Regions from separate parts of the Homo sapiens genome. Here regions 1 and 2 are each linked to region 3. The links are contacts of gene promoters, found by promoter capture Hi-C in blood cells and fetal thymus (Javierre and others, 2016). All regions are on one chromosome and are shown on one strand. The core of a region is centred on a gene start or on the middle of the fragment in contact, and the rest is flanking DNA. Distances in the headings are between cores, read along the strand shown.

Region 1 (3,435 bases), core at 388-2,887, 340 kb after region 3:
TGATTTGCATTTCCTTGATGGCTAATGATGTCGACCAAATTTTAATGTGTCTATTGGCAGTTTGTATCTCTTCTTTGGAGAAATGTTTATTTGGATCCTTTGCCCATTTTTAAATTGAGTTGTCTTAATTACTGAGTTTTAAGGGTTCTATATATACCAGTACAAATTCCTTATCAGATACGTGGTTTGCAATTTTTTTCTCCCATTCCGTGAGCTGTATTTTCACTTTATGGTGTACTTTGAAGCATAAAAGTTTTTGATTTTGATGAACTCCAATTTCTTATTTTCTTTCGTTGCTTTTGGTATCATATCTAAGAAAGCATTGCCTAATCCAAGGTCACAAAGATTTCCACCTTTTTTCATAGAGTGTTAATGGTTTTAGCTCTTACATTTGGGTCTTTGTATATTTTGACTTAATTTTTGTACATTATGAGGTAGGAGTTAGGCTTCATTCTTTTGCATATGGCTATTCAGTGTTCCCAGCACCGTTTATTGATGAAGACTATTCTTCATTGAATTGTCTTGGCACCCTTGTTGCAAATTTGCTGACTGTACATGTGAGAGTTTATTTCTGGCCTGAAATTCTATTCCATTGATCTGTATAGGTCTATCCTTATGCCAGCACCACACTGTCTTGATTACTGTAGCTTTGTAGTAATGGCACAGCTCTTTGATGATTGGTTTCTATAAGTGTGTTTTTTATAAAGTACTTTCAATGACAAACTAATTGTTTTGGGATTTTTAATCAGCAAATCCTTAACATATATGTAATGACTCTGTCCAGGCAAAACTTGTTCAGTTTAAAATTTGTCTTCAGTAATTCCCTAATTCCTAGTTTACCTCTTTACACCTACCCTGAAAACTTCAGTATACTCTTCTTATAACCTGGTTGTTCAAGATCTCATGGCACCACTTTTGAGTGGCAGTCTTGGGAGTTTTTCTCATCACCACTGTTAAATTTGCCTCTGTTGTATTTATTTCCCTTTCCAAGATTCTACTTTGGGAGAGGTGAAGCTAATTAATTTGATAAATTGTGTCAGTGGGCGCCATGAGAAATTTTGGCGTCGGCAAGCCTTTGATATCAATTATCAACTGACAAAATATAGAGAAGGCATTTTGCTGTGTTCATGTGCATCTCTGTCCTGCAGGAACCATCTTATTACAGATTCTCAGTGGGTTGGGGGAGGATGGTGCACTGTGTCTGTAGCACGGAAAAGCATCTTTTTTTTTTTTCCTTTTTGAGAATCGGATCTAGTATTTGTAAGCTCCTGGAGGACATAATATCATTCACGGTTATAGCCATAATGCCTGGTCTGCTTCTATTATATAGTAAATGGTCAACAAATGTGTGTGTTTGAGGAGGTGGTGGCTTTTAAAATTGACCACACTGAAAAACATGCAGGTTCAAACAATGCAAAAGGGTATACAGTGTACAATAAATCTGCCCCAGAAGCAGCCGGTGTCAAGTTTTCAAGATTTTCCATGCATATAAAAGCTTATCTATTACATAAAAAGAACATCATAGTACGTGAGCTGTAGGATACCTTGCTTTTTTCACTTAATGATATTAAGTGATATTAAGTTTGGAATGATTTTCTATCTGTGATTATAGATTTACTTTATTTCTTTCAGTGGCTTCAGTTTCTGTTTTATGATATACCATTATTGAAGCAATCTCCTGTTGATGAGTGTGCTATAAACAAGGTTGCAACATCTTTGTTCTTGGGTCTTTGTGCGTGTTTTTATCTGTAAAATTGCTAAGAGTGGAATTTCTAGGTTAAAGCTTTTTGCGTTTAAAAATGTGTAGATACTGCAAATCAATTGCCCTCCAAAAAGGACCACACCAATTTATACGCTTATAAACAAAGCCTGTGAGTGTTTCTTACCTGACACCCTCAGTCCCACTGGATACTTTAAAACTCTTTCATCCTTACCAATCTAATCAGTGAAAAATGGAACTGCAGGTTATTGGTTTTCCCTTGCTCATTTAAAAAATGTTGGTGTGAATGATTTGGGGACCCTTGGTCTATCAAAGAAATTACCTTTTTGTCGTATGTATTCTATGTGTATTCCCTAGTTTGTCTTTTAACTTTAATTTCTGCTTGTAAAGATATTTCTGTACAGTGTTTTACATTTCAATGTAATTAAGTGGATCAGTTTTTTTATTTATGATTTCTGGAGCTCAATAAATATTAAGTGAATCCAAGTACCAGTACTGCTGTTACCGTTAAATTCTGCTCAACAGATATTTGCCAGGCGTCGATAATGAGCAAAATGCTAGGCTAACGTTGTGGAGGAGCATGGATGAATAACACTGTCCTGGCCCTCAAAGAATTCCACTCTGCTGTAAGGGAAAATGAAATGATCACCATAATAGGAATAAGAGCAAACTTCTAAGAGGGGAGCCTCAATAAATACAAAGGGGCAATAAACACATAGCATGTTAGAGGAGAAGTTCTCACGGGAGCCAGGGTGTGTGAAGGGAGGTAGCAAGAGAAAAAGTCTAGAAAGGTAAAATGGGTGTAGATTATGAAGGGTCTTGAATGCCATGCTTGGTATTTTAGACCTTATTCTGTATGCAAGAGAAAGCTATGAAGGATTTTGAGATGGAGAGGATCAAATCTAGTTTGTGTTTAGAAAAATCTAGAGGCATTGAGGCAGACAGGTTATTGCAGTGATTCTGAATCACACTGCAGCTGTCTTAACTTTTCTCCCATCGAATCTTACCCCCGACCTCCCACCGCCATTCCTTCTGTATACTATGGCCAGGCAAATCTTTCTAAAACACAAATGAAATAATTCCTCTGCTTGGGAAAAAATTCCCAAGACCTGCTCACCACCTCAGGCGCACGTTCACATTTCTTCCCTTGGTTTACAAAATCCTCTGAGAGCTGGCACGTTTATAAAGGGAGCAGCTTGAGGAAGTTAGAAAGGGATTTGGTTTTGGACACATAAGACCCAACCCATGTCCTTAATGACCTTAGGTTTTAGTTAGATAGACAGACATAAAAATATCTAAGTGCAGGCTGAGCATCCCTTATCTGAAATACTTAGGACCGGAAAAGTTTTTTATTTTGATTTTTTAAAAAATTTTGGAATACTTGCATTATACTTATCAGTTGAGCATCCCAAATCTGAAAATCTGAAGTTGGTGTGCTCTAGTAAGCGTTTTCTATGAGCGTCAAATTTGGGATTTCAGCACTTTAGATTTCAGATTTTCAAATTTGGGATGCTCAACCTGTGCATTCCTTCCATGCACACTCACCATTCCCGATGTATCCTATTTTCTGAACTTGAACGGCCATCTCTTGACTGCTCCAGTTAAAATTTCACCTGTCTGTTAAGGCTTAGCTCATACGAAATCTCTCTAAGGCCTTCCTCATATGCCTGGTCAGAATTCTTCTCCCCTCCTAATTCCCCCTCATCTCTACTGTA
Region 2 (3,464 bases), core at 488-2,987, 300 kb before region 3:
TATTTTTTAGATCCTTTTCTTTCTTATGATTAAAATTGGTGTTTCCAAACACTTCATGCTCTGTCTCCACACATTAATTTCACATTATCTCTTCCTAAGAGTTTAACATAGGCTTGGTTTTGTTGTCCTAAGAATTCTTGATACCAGGCAGTATGTGACCAACTGGGGAGGGGGACACAGGGAGGAAGGGGAGGCTCAGGTGGGGAAGAAGGTAGTCCTATTTGCAGTATTTAATTTAATCTTCATTAAAAAAATATTATTATAACCATTTTGCTGATGGTGAAACAGACCCATAGAGGCTCAGTGACTTGGCCAATACTAGGCAGATAAGAAGCAGCAGAACCCCCATTCACATCCAGGGTTGCCTTATTCTAAAGCCTGTGTTCAGACTGCTCAATCCTGCTTTTTCTCAAGCACCTATCACTGGTCAAAAATCTGGAGAGCTGATTTCTTCAACCAACCTATATGGCTCTAACTTGTAAGAGGGGGGAAACCGTAATACTTGACAAAGAAGGAAATCTCTCTTTCTAATCAGGGGCCTATTAGGGAGCAAAATGAGCAACCAAAAACTGCTTGATGAAGGGATAGCTCTGGAATCAGAATGGTGCGATGGAACCTAGCCTGCCCTCAGACTTGATGCTTCTATAACCTGATCTGAGACCACTCACTTAATGCTGAAGACACATGGCCCCAAACTTCATCCTCAACTCTCTGTACTAGGTGCATCCAACCCAGGGTTGCTAAGTCTAAGAAAACTGCTTATGGGGCAACCTAGTGGACATGTTTGTGTCACCTAATAGTCTGTCTGGTTCCATTCTGCTGGGGGAAGAGGACCCTCTCCTACACTTTTCCAGGCACAAAGTCTTTTGGAAGTGATTTGGCATGGAAAAAGACCTTCATGTTTCCTACCCTCATGGCACTAACAGTCAAATGGAACAGAGACCATTAGAAAAAAAAATTCATATGATTACTGCCAGGAAAGAGTAATCACCAAATGCTATAAAAATTCATGACTGAGAAATTTAACCTGAAGTGAGCTGGTTTGAATAGAAAAGCTAAGAGGTTTGAATGGAAAAGCTAAGAGAGTCTCTGCTGAATGGTTATTGTGGGTCCCTCATGAGCCCTGCTCTCGGTGTTCATGGTGTTGCATGCTTGGCCACCCATTCACTTGACTCTGGGCTTGGCTCTATGACTACTTTGGCCAACAGGACATTAGTGTGATAGAAGCAGAGGCATTCATGCACACTGGAGCTTGTCCTCTGGGGACAGCCCCAGCTTCTTAAAACCCCAAGGAAGAGGAATAGGACCTCTCAATCTCCAGTCATGACTAGTTGTAAACATACCAGCAACTCTGGCAAGTGGGGGCCAAGCCAAATGTATTTGATCTAGAAAAATTAAAAAATACCCGTTTCCTTTTGTCCCAATATTATGGAACAAAATTATATTTGTCACATTTATAATCAACTTCCACTTAAACATCTAATTCCATGAAACAATTTGATTGAATCTGTGTTCTTTGCAAACAAAATACTCCAAATAAAACACACTCTTTTTAAAAAAGGTCAAACTGCCCCTTCTGATCCTGTGATCACATCGACAATTCTACCAAGAAGTTTATGATGAGTTCAGGAGCAAAGCTTCTAGTTAGCACTAAACAGCTTTCCAACAGCAGGTGGAGCATTCACCTCAAAGATAAAAGAAGCATAACGGGAGGAAGGATACTGTCAGGGCCATATAGAAAAGCTGTTTCTACTCTTATTCAGCATGTTCCATTTCCAATGCTATTCTAGTCTTTAAAGGAAAAATTAAACTCACTTATTCCTGTGCTTCTAAATTCCTAAGCTTTGTTCCATGAGCTTAGTCCAAGGAAAAAATGACAGAGAACATCAGCTATAAGTGAGAAGTGTACAGCAGCTTGGTAGACACAGATATGCTATGGATGGTGACTATGCTCTGTATGGTTTCTGTATTCATTTCCTACAGTTGCTGCAACAAATTGCCACACACTTGGCTTCAAACTGCATAAATTTATTATTTTACAGTTCTGGAGGTCAGAAACCTAAAATAAATCTTAAAGAGCTAAAATCAAGGTGTGGGCAGGGCTGGTTCCTTCTGGGGGTTCCAGGGGAGAATCCGTTCTGACTCTTCCAGCTTTGGGAAGCCACCTGCACTTCTTGGCTCAGCTCATGGCCTTCTTTGCATCCTCCCAACCGCTTACCTCCATCAGTGTACCTCTGCTACCTACTCTGGTCTCCTGCCTCCCTCCTATAAAGACCTTTGTGATTACACTTGGCCCATCTGAAGAATGTAGGGCAATCTCCCCACCTCAAAATTCTTAACCACATCTGCAAAGTCCCTTTTGCCATATAAGATAGCATATTCACATGTTCTGGGGATTAGAACATGGACATCCTTGGGGGCCACTATTCAACATACCTGGGTTTCCAATACCCACCCTAGTATAGATACAACTGAATAAAATTAAATAATTTTACCCAGCTTCATGAGTGTAGAGAAATAAAGCTAGCCCAAGGAGTTCACATCATCGATAAGGAACTTATCCCACCTGTGTTCTGTGATAAAAATTCTATGCAAATGTATTGCACTTTTATTCCCAAGAACAGCTATTGGAACAATTTTAGAGACTTATGAGAATGAGTACCTGGTCTACAATGACTCAAGATGATGAAGATATTTCAAATGAGTCCACAAGTCTCTCGAATATGTCCACTGTATAAAAGATATACTGGTAGCTGTCAAACTAGACACTTCAGCAGCCTCTAGAAACAGAATAGTTGATAAGGACTACGACTAAAGAAGATTTGTCTCCAATTATTGACCACAATGATTTTTGTCATCCATGACTTCTCTAAATAAGTAAAAACATTGCCCTACGTACTTTATTATTACAGGCAGCCACTTTATTTTCATTACAATAAATATTTACTTGGCTACCTTATCCTGTTGGAAAAATTGTGACTTCTGAGAACTCAGGAAAACTAGAATCTATTTAGGGTTTACTCTGTACAAGTCCCCATGCCTAGACAGGTGCCATGGGGAATATGAGGATGAATGGGGGCTGTCCAGAGGCTCAGAGTCTTGTGGAAGAGACAAATGCAAAACACAAAAATACAAGCAAATCTAATGCAAGGTTTCTGTGATCTGCAGTATAATAAACACATTAACAAATGCAACAAGAAGGCTGGAAGAAAATTAATGACTGAGGAATCTGGGATATACTATTAGAAGAGCAATATTTTGTGCAAGGCCTTAGGGCTAAGAAATATCTTTAAAAGGAGTATAATTTTGACAGATGGAAAAGATATGGCTTTTAGAGGTTCACTAAGGTGAAAAACTGTAAAAAATCAGTTTCCTTTTAGTGGCATTGATATTGTTAAGGTATAACCCAAAGCTCCTTATTTACAAACCAGGGTAATAACTTTCTTTCCAAAAAATTCTGCTTG
Region 3 (3,305 bases), core at 307-2,806:
GTGAGGAGTTAGGGAGTTGGGGATCTGGTTGCAAGCTCAGGTAAGCCTGATGATGCTTTGTTCCTTACCCTGAGAGACATTTTACCAAAAACACTGACAGACATTCCTGATAGATTAACCAATACCAAACGTTTTTGAATCCTATTCTTATTTGCCACACACGTTTAGTCAGGATCTCAAGGATTCATCAGTAGCAGCAGAAACTTTAATGTAGGGTTAATATATTTGAGAGGTCATTCTTAAGAAAAGTCTAGGCAATAGGCCCTCAGGTAGTGAATTATTCTGTAGGATTCATTGTTTTTTGTTTCATTTTGTTTTGTTTTGTTCTTTTTTCATTTTTCTATTTTTCTCCATAGGATTCTTGATAGGTTTCAATCACACACCTTCCCATGGGTATTTCCATGGGCAACCCACCCCTTCTCTTCAGCAGTAAACTAACAACTACATACCAGTGAACATCACAGGTATAAACCACCTTTCTTCTTTTAAGGAATTAGTATGCAAACTTTAGTACTCTTTTCCTAGTAACAAATAACTGCTGTATCAGATTGTGTCACAAGGCAGCTGCTTTGACTTATTGCTCTGTAGCTGGGGTCAGCCTCTTCAGAACATTGTTAATGAGAGAAAGGAAGTGCTTTGGGCAGTGTCTGGCCCATCAGGCCCTCTGTAAATGTTTGCTATTAATGCAATGCTGAGATCCCAGTGAACAGAATCTGGCTTAGAAGAAGTGGGTATCCACGGTGCCCGAGCCTAATCTTACATCTTGGATTTGTAAGTGGCATTTATTGAGTTGAACATGAGCTTGAGCACGCGGTCACACATTCTTTCAGCAAACACTGGTTAGGCACCAGCTGCTACGTGCAAGCACTGCCCTACATGCTGGGACGCAGCTGTAGTAGGAATGAAATAACGCCAGCATTCCTGCATGCGGGCAGTGCGGGCCCTGTACAGAAAGGTACACGAGATAGGCATCCTCACATCCATTGTCCTGGGAGGAAACTGAGGCTTTGAGAAACGGAGAACTTGCCGGGCCATTTGACTCTACGTCATCCCCTCCCCCATCAATGCCCTGAACAGCCTCCTGTACACCCTTAAGGAACTTACTTTGTAATGATTATTAAGAACTCAGCGAGACCCCGAGCATCACCTCGGCATATCGCATCCTTTCTCTAGAGAACCCCTAATGTTGGAAGGGATCAGAGCGCACCTCCTCCGCTCCTGGGAGCACCCCCTTCCTAATAATACCTTGGGGATGGGTCGGAAGGAAAGGAAAGGAGACGCGAGAGGTGTAGTCGATGTGCCTGCGAAGCCCAGGCTCCTCTGGAGATCCTTCCGTCCGTCCCTACAGGAGAAGGCTGGCCCGGGCTGCTCCACTCCCCGGAGCTGCAGACTGAGTCGCCAGGTTTCTGTGCCTTCAAAGCCCTGCGCGACGGCCACACCAAACACCCAAACCTTGGGCAGGGACCAAACGGTCACTTCCCCGCCCTCCGGGCTCAATATGCAAATCCGAGCACCAGGAAGTAGCTGGGACCTCTCGGCCGAGCCCAGAGACAGCCAGTTCCTCTCCCGCCGCGCCGGGCCGCGCTGCCGCTCGCTCCCCGGCCGTGGCGCCTCCGGGCCAGACGCGCTGCAGCCTCCAGCCCGCGGCAAGCGGGGCGGCCGCGCCACCCCCGGCCCCGCGCCAGCAGCCCCTCGCCGCGCGTCCAGCGTTCCCGGCCAGCAGCCTCCCCATACGCAGGTCCTGCTGGGCCGCCCCGTCGCGCCCCCCACTCTGAACTCAAGTCACCGTGGAGCTCCGCCGCCCCGAAACTTTCACCGCGAGCGGGTGAGTCCTCTGCGCGAGCCCAGGGGTGGGCGCGGGCACGCGGGCAGTGGGTGCAGGGGCCGCGGCTGTGCCACCAGCCGGAGTCCCGGGCGCAGGGTAGACTCGGGGCCGGGGGCATCGGCGCGGCCCGCGGCGGCTTCCTGGCCGCACCGCCTCTGGGCTCCGGCGGCGAAGGCTCTTAGATGTCTTCAGCCGACGGGTGACCGGGCCCGGGGGAGCCAGGGCGCGGGGACTGAGGCTCCGCAGGTGTCCGCCGCGGAGCCGCGCAGGGGAGCGGTGGGAGGTGCGGGCGCGGGGGCGGGCTCACCGCGTGTCCTTCCCGGTGAGGGCCCGAGGGCCGGCTGCTGTCCCTGCTCCGGCCGCTTCTCGCACACAGTGGGGAAGCCGCTGCCCTTGCGGAGCGGGCGCGCGGCGGGGATACTGGAGAGGACTCCTCGGATTGTGCAATCTGATCTCCCCTCTGGACCCTGGGTCTCCTGGCAGTGGGAGATGGGGCTCGGCCGGCGCCCTCTCGAGGCCCGCGGACAGTTGCCCTCCCTGGTGGCCCCGGGCAGGAGCGTGACGTCGAGGGGCTGCAGCGGAGGCTGGAACTCACCCTCCCGCTGCGGCGCCTCTCGGCCTGCCGAGGAGCAGTCCGGTGCTTTTGCCGGCTGAGAGGAAGCGAGAGTTATTTTAAGAATTCAGGGGTTGCCTTTCCTTCGCCTTGGGGGAAGGGCGTAAGAGTCAGTTCCCACTTTCCTGCATTCTCTGGGCCCATGGTGGCATCTTTTGCTTGCGGTGCATTCGTAACTTTCCAACAGCCTGCCTGTCATGTGGATTAGCGGTTGTGTTTTTGTATATCCGAGTGTGTTAATTATCCCAAATTCGCCCTTCTTCGCCAGCTCAGAATCTAGGCCTTGCACTTTTCTGGCTGTATATTTAGGGGACCGATTATTGAAATTCCCTGTTTGAGTTTCTTCATCTTTGAGAGAGCATATATACCTCAGGGGCTGTTTAGTACACACAAAGCCCCTAGTACGTACCAAGCATTTCATAAACGATGTTACTGTTATTTATTGCAGTGAATTCTATTCATATAAATGAGGCTTCTTGGTTCTTTGCAGCTTGGTGATGTTGAAGCTAAGACTACCATGTCAGATTTAGCCATCTGACCTTATTAGTAAATCTGCTTAATAAATACATGAGGGATTTGCTGTCCCAAAGCAGGGCCCAGTAGTCTGACTTTCCCTAAAGAACTAGCCAATAAACTGGTGGGCTACAGGGATGTTTTCTCTGTACAGCCAACACCTAAAGCCATGCCCTGGGGAATAGGCACTGCAAGAACCCAGGCCTTACTAAGCCCTTCTCTGTAAGAGTAAGCTTTGTTGGGAAAGGGTGGGATCCAGTTAGTCCCTCCATTCTCATTTGGAGGTAAGCAGGTAAGCGCTTTGAGGCCTGAATAAATTTCACTGGATCATAGAGTCTTTGGTGACTGGGCCTC

The links. The method cuts DNA at HindIII sites, captures the fragments that hold promoters and counts their contacts. A CHiCAGO score of 5 or more calls a contact.
Region 1: a fragment that was not itself captured here is called in contact with the fragment with the promoter of LYN in region 3 in 1 of 17 cell types (naive B cells); the score reaches 5.3 in naive B cells.
Region 2: a contact is called between a fragment that was not itself captured here and the fragment with the promoter of LYN in region 3, in 1 of 17 cell types (erythroblasts). The highest score is 6.2, in erythroblasts.

What each region holds. Positions count from the first base shown.
Region 1 is chr8:56,220,968-56,224,402 of GRCh38, forward strand. No RefSeq gene overlaps it. Among named protein-coding and RNA genes, the nearest start is that of CHCHD7, 11 kb to the left of the region's middle. The HindIII fragment of the contact is 288 bases long and covers 1,494-1,781 here.
Region 2 is chr8:55,578,280-55,581,743 of GRCh38, forward strand. No RefSeq gene overlaps it. Among named protein-coding and RNA genes, the nearest start is that of XKR4-AS1, 59 kb to the left of the region's middle. The HindIII fragment of the contact is 205 bases long and covers 1,636-1,840 here.
Region 3 is chr8:55,878,279-55,881,583 of GRCh38, forward strand. LYN (LYN proto-oncogene, Src family tyrosine kinase) reads left to right here and starts at 1,557. Exons shown (of 13, transcript NM_002350.4): 1 at 1,557-1,825. RefSeq lists enhancers at 651-740, 1,301-1,360 and silencers at 1,511-1,570, 1,591-1,760, 1,841-2,130, 2,161-2,340. The HindIII fragment of the contact is 13,046 bases long and covers 1-3,182 here.